Regions from separate parts of the Homo sapiens genome. Here region 2 is linked to region 1. Evidence: promoter capture Hi-C in human tissues and cell types (Jung and others, 2019). All regions are on one chromosome and are shown on one strand. The core of a region is centred on a gene start or on the middle of the fragment in contact, and the rest is flanking DNA. Distances in the headings are between cores, read along the strand shown.

The links. The method cuts DNA at HindIII sites, captures the fragments that hold promoters and counts their contacts. A contact is called where the count stands out against the background at its distance.
Region 2: a fragment that was not itself captured here is called in contact with the fragment with the promoter of C22orf15 in region 1 in 3 of the 25 tissues and cell types used here (H1 embryonic stem cells, mesenchymal stem cells and small bowel).

What each region holds. Positions count from the first base shown.
Region 1 is chr22:23,761,631-23,764,330 of GRCh38, reverse strand. It overlaps C22orf15 (chromosome 22 open reading frame 15), which reads right to left and starts at 1,341. Exons shown (of 6, transcript NM_182520.3): 1 at 1,000-1,341; 2 at 158-244; 3 at 1-71. The coding sequence starts at 1,024. The HindIII fragment of the contact is 4,822 bases long and covers 996-2,700 here.
Region 2 is chr22:23,437,230-23,439,929 of GRCh38, reverse strand. No RefSeq gene overlaps it. Among named protein-coding and RNA genes, the nearest start is that of LINC01659, 5.0 kb to the right of the region's middle. The HindIII fragment of the contact is 4,366 bases long and covers 1-2,700 here.

The DNA of each region.
Region 1 (2,700 bases), core at 92-2,591:
GGAAGCCCCTTCCTTCAGGTCCTCCTCCAGGCTCACTAGGTTGCCATCCTCAGCCAGGAGAGCAATGGTCGCTGGGAGGACATGGAGAGAGACTGGGCAGGGCTGGCACCCCTGCCTGGGACCCCTCAGCCCCTCCTTCTCCTCCCTGTCTCCTCACCATCTGGGGGCAACCCTGCTTTCTGCCTCAGGTGGGCGGTGAGGTTCACCAGCCTGCAAGAGGTGTTCACCAGCACCGAGCAGCCAGCTGTGGAGAGGGGCAAAGGTGAGCCTGTGAGATCTCTTACCTTCCTCCAAATCGGGGTCCTCTGTCTCTCCCTCCCATCTCTCCCTTTCCCAGAGCTGCGACTGGGCCTATGGGCTAAGACTGTGCCCCGGGCATAACAGCTCCAACATCTGTTGCTTAAACTGCCTTGGAGAACCCTCCATCCATCTCCCATGTGTGGTGACTTTTCTCCCATGTGTGGTGACTCCCAAGTGTTGGTCTCTTGAGTCCTGCAAAGCACGAAGTGGGCGCCAGCCCAGCCTCCTCCCGGGACCCGCCCCCACGGGACCCAGCCAGTCCCCGCCCTCCGCACCCACCGGCTCCTCTCTTCCCTTCCGCTACCGCACAGGGCCGACCCGCCTCCAGCCAGAGGCACGGGGACCCTGCAACTGTGGCTAGAGTTTCAGGTGTCTGATGCACGCTGAAGCTTGAGGATCACGGATTGAATGGCGAAGAGATTGTGCGGCTTAAAAACCTGCTCCAGGGTAATGCGGCGGTCTCTGGCCGAGAGGAACCCTTGTGAATGAGCAGGACTCAGCTCGGGTTTTCCCTTTAAGGGACTCGCTCCAGGTGCTGGCTTCGCCTCCTCACAGAGCCGCTTCCCCGACGACCCCCGCCATGTGCACCACCCCCCTTTCCCGCCATTGCCTCCCCACCCACCGCAAGGGCGGAAGGAAGCACGCCTCTGAGTGTGCTCATCCCCCTATCCGCCTACCAAGACAGGGGACCCCACTTACCCCCAAACATCACCTTGATAAACATAGCTGCAGCGGGTGAGGGAGATGTGGGGGGCTTTGATCCCCCAACTCTCGATTCCCCAACTAAGGAAAAGCGTGGAGCAGAGACCTGCTTCAGGGCCGGGCTCTGGAGGGAGAAGTGGATGTGTGAGTGTGGATGGCTGGGTCCCAGGGCCAGGCCCCTGCTCAGCCACCTCTGTGGTTCTGCTGCTTCAGCCTAGCTCAAACCCTGCAGCTAGTCCAAGACTCCTGGCCTCCTCTTCCTCCCCACTGAGCCCTGGGCCACAGCAGCTCCCCTAAGCTTCCAAGCTGGTCTCCATGGCAGTGGGGGCGGAGACATCTAGGCAGGAAATGCCTTCCTCCCTGTATCCGTTAACGGGGCCCATGGGGGAGAGGTGACAGAAGAAGTGGGGGCTGGCATTCCCTGAGGCGGGGAATGCCATCATTGGGATTGATTTTTTTTAGAGACAGTCTCCCTATGTTGCCCAGGCTGGTCTCGAACTTGGCTCAAGCAATTCTCCAGCCCCAGCCTCCCACAAGTGCTGGGATTGCAGTTGTGAACCACTTGTACAGTAAAGTTCACCCTTTCTGGTGTTTTAAAGTTATGCCAACTCTCATATAACCACCACCACAGTCAAGATACAGAACATTTCCATCACCCCCAAATTCCTTTGCCCCCTTTGTACTCAGCCCTAGTCGCTTCCAGGTCCATAGCAGGTCACAAGCACCTCCTTGTTAGCACTGGCCACTAGCTAGTCCCTCACACCGGTTCTCACCGTCATTTCCTGTCTTTTATTTATTTATTTATTAAGTTTATTAATTATTATTATTATTGGTGTTTTTTAAATTTTTATTTTTTGAGATGGAGTCTCCCTGTCACCCAGGCTAGAATGCAGTGGTACGATCTCGGCTCACTGCAACCTCCGCCTCCCGAGTTCAAGCGATTCTCCTGCCTCAGCCTCCCAAGTAACTGGGACTACAGGTGTGCACCACTACACCTGGCTAGTTTTTTTTTTTTTTTTTTTTTTTTTTGAGACGGAGTCTCGCTCCCTCGCCCAGGCTGGAGTGCAGTGGTGTGACCTCGGCTCACTGCAAGCTCCGCCTCCCGGGTTCACGCCTTTCTCCTGCCTCAGCCTCCTGAGTAGCTGGGACTACAGTCGCTCGCCACCACGCCCAGCTAATTTTTTTTGTATTTTTAGTACAGACGGGGTTTCACCATGTTAGCCAGGACGGTCTCAATCTCCTGACCTCGTGATCTGCCCGCCTCGGCCTCCCAAAGTGCTGGGATTACAGGATTACAGGCGTGAGCCACTGCGCCCGGCCTTTTTTTGTATTTTTAATAGAGATGGAGTTTCACCATATTGGTCAGATTGGTCTCGAACTCCTGACCTCAAATGATCCGCCCATCTTGGCCTCCCAAAGTGCTGAGCCACCAAGCCTGACCTATTTATTTTTTTTTGAGAATGAGTCTCGCTCTGTCAGCCATGCTGCAGTGCAGTGGCGCAATCTCGGCTCACTGCAACCTCCGCCTCTCGGGTTCAAGCGATTCTCCTGCCTCAGCCTCCGGAGTAGCTGGTATTACAGGCGCCAGCCACCACCCCTGGCTAATTTTTTGTATTTTTAGTAGACATAAGGAAGGCCAGGCTGGTCTCGAACTCCTGACCTCAGGTGATCCACCTGCCTGAGCTTCTCAAAGTGCTG
Region 2 (2,700 bases), core at 81-2,580, 320 kb after region 1:
TCTTTACTGCAACCTGTTTTATCAGCCAAGTCTTTGTGACTTGCATCTTGTGCGGACCTCCTATCTCATCTTGTGACTATGAACGCCTAACCTTCTGGGAAAGCAGTCCTGTAGGTCTCAGTCTTATTTCACCCAGTCCTTATTCAAAATGGAGTCACTCTGGTTCAAATGCCTCTGATACCCGCACATTGAAAATGAGAACACATTGCTGAGAGAAACTGTTCATAGATTAGAAGTTTCCATATCATTAAGATGTCAATTATCCCCAAAATGATCTATAGAGTCAGCATAATTCCAATTAAAATCCTAGCAGGCTGACAAAGATGCAAAAGGCTATTCAGTAAAAAAGAATGATCTTGATACTGGAGTAACTGGACGTTCATATGCAATAAAAAATGAAAAAGAGTCAATCCAGACCTTGCACCATATAAAAAAAAACTCAAAATGGATCATGAACACAAATGTAAAATTTAGAACTATAAAACTTCTAGAAGAAAAAAAATGGAGGCAGTCTTTGTGACCTTGGGTTAGGTAAAGATTTCTTAGATACGACAGCAAAAGCACACTCTATAAAATAAAAGACGGGTAAGTTAGACTTAATCAAAATTAAAAATGTCTGCTCTTCAAAAGACATTGTTAAGAGAATGAAAAAACATGTCATATATAAGGAGAGAACACCAGCAATGTACATATTTGATGAAGGATTTGCATCTGGAGTATACAAAGAACTCTCAAAACTCATTAAGGAAACATAGAACCCCATAAATAATTAGCAGAAGATGTGAACAGGCACTTCAGCGAAGACCAGCAAGTTGGCACAGGTACAGATGCTCAGTGTCATTCGTCATGAGGAAAATGCAAATTAAAACCACAATGAGACGCCATCAGTCACCTCTTAGAAGGACTGAAATTAAAAAGACTGATCATGTCAAGTACTGGTGACCGTGTGGAGAAACTACAAGTCTCCTATACTGCTGATAGGAATGGAAAATGGTGCAGGCACTTTGGAAAACAGCTTGGCAACTTCTTGTAAAGTTAAGCATGCACCGACCACACAATCAAGCAGTTCCACTCCGATTTAGCCAAGAGAAAAGAAATAAATGTCCGTGCAAAGCTTGCATGTGAATGTTCACTGTACACTTTATTTGCAACAGCCCCAAGCTGGAAGCCACCGGAATGCCCGTCAACATCTGGATGGATGAAGACACTGTGGTCTATCTGTATGACTGTAAAGGGATAAACTGTTGATACCACAGCAACATGGATAAATCTCAAACTAACTACGCTTAGTGGAAGAAGCCAGACGAGAAAGGCTAGATACTGCGTGATTCCACTTACAGAAACTCTAGAAAACATGGATGAACCCGTGGTGACAGGAAACACAGAAGGATCAGTGGCTGCTTGGGGTCGGGTTGCAGTGGGAGGGGCAAGGCAGGCTGCACAGGGCCTGGGATCTGGGGGCGAAGGGTCTGTTCACTGCCTTGACGGCCTCACGGGTGCGTGTATATAGACGATGACTCATCAATAACGCAGACTCAGCAAACAGGGAAGCCCTGGCAGGAGGAGGTGGTGGCATCGGGGCAGGTCCAGCTATCACAGGCCAGCCTGGTGAAACACGGCAGTGGGCTACTTCTCCAGACAAAACTGCTCCCTCTTGGGTGTCTAGAGGCGATTCCTGCGTAGCTCTGCCTGGACTGGGAAACATATTCCTAACCCCGTGCAGGGGCTGCAGTCCCTCTACCCGAAACCCACGCCAACACCCACTTCACATTTTGCATTTGAATCTCAGGAGGTTCACGGACCCTGTAACCCAGCGGCACCCGCAGCCCCTGGGATGGAAAAGCATCATAAAAGCAGACAGTGGCGCGTGTTGGGGAGGACGGGGAGAACCTGGGAGAAGAGGCAGCTCCTTACAAAGCTCAACGTTAAATTACCACGTGACCCCGGCACTTCCTCTTATGGGTGTACACCCGAGAGAAACAAAAATGCATTTCCACACACAAGCTTGTACACGAATGTTCACAGCGGCACTGTGTGTAATAGCCCTAAACGGAAGCAATTCAAATGTTCTATCAATGGATGAACGGATAAACAACATGGTCTATCCACACACTAGACTGTATGATTCATCAGTAACAAATGGAGCGTCAGCACGTGGTCCAATGTGAGCGAACCGTGAAAACCTTACGTTCAGTGAAAGACGCCAGACGCCAGAGACCACTCATCGCTGAGCCCATCTCCCTGCAACACTGCCGGTAGGGGAGTCTAGAGACAGAACACAGACAGTGGCTGCCGATGGCTGGGAGGGGATGGCTATGGGGCACGTTTCCTTCCAGGGTGATAAAGGCATTCATTCCAAGATAGACTGTGATGATGGCTGCACGCTCTGTAGATGACATCTCAATCAAGCTGCTTCATGAGAAAGGCCCAGCCACTGACCACGGGGTGAACGTCCTGCCGTCCACAGTCCCTGGCCGAGAAGAAAGTATGACTGACAGGTAAGACTACCTAAAGTCCCAGGCACACCCTGGGGCGGGGAGGAGGCTGGGGACAAGGACAGAGTGTGCAAAGACACGCCGGGCTCTGGGAGGTCAGCAGAGAGTCTGGACCCCAGATTTGAGGCAGCCAGGAACTGCCTGCCAGTCCCAGCTCATATGGCCTGAGCTTGGCCAACCGTGGCGGGTCCCACTCGCAGATGGC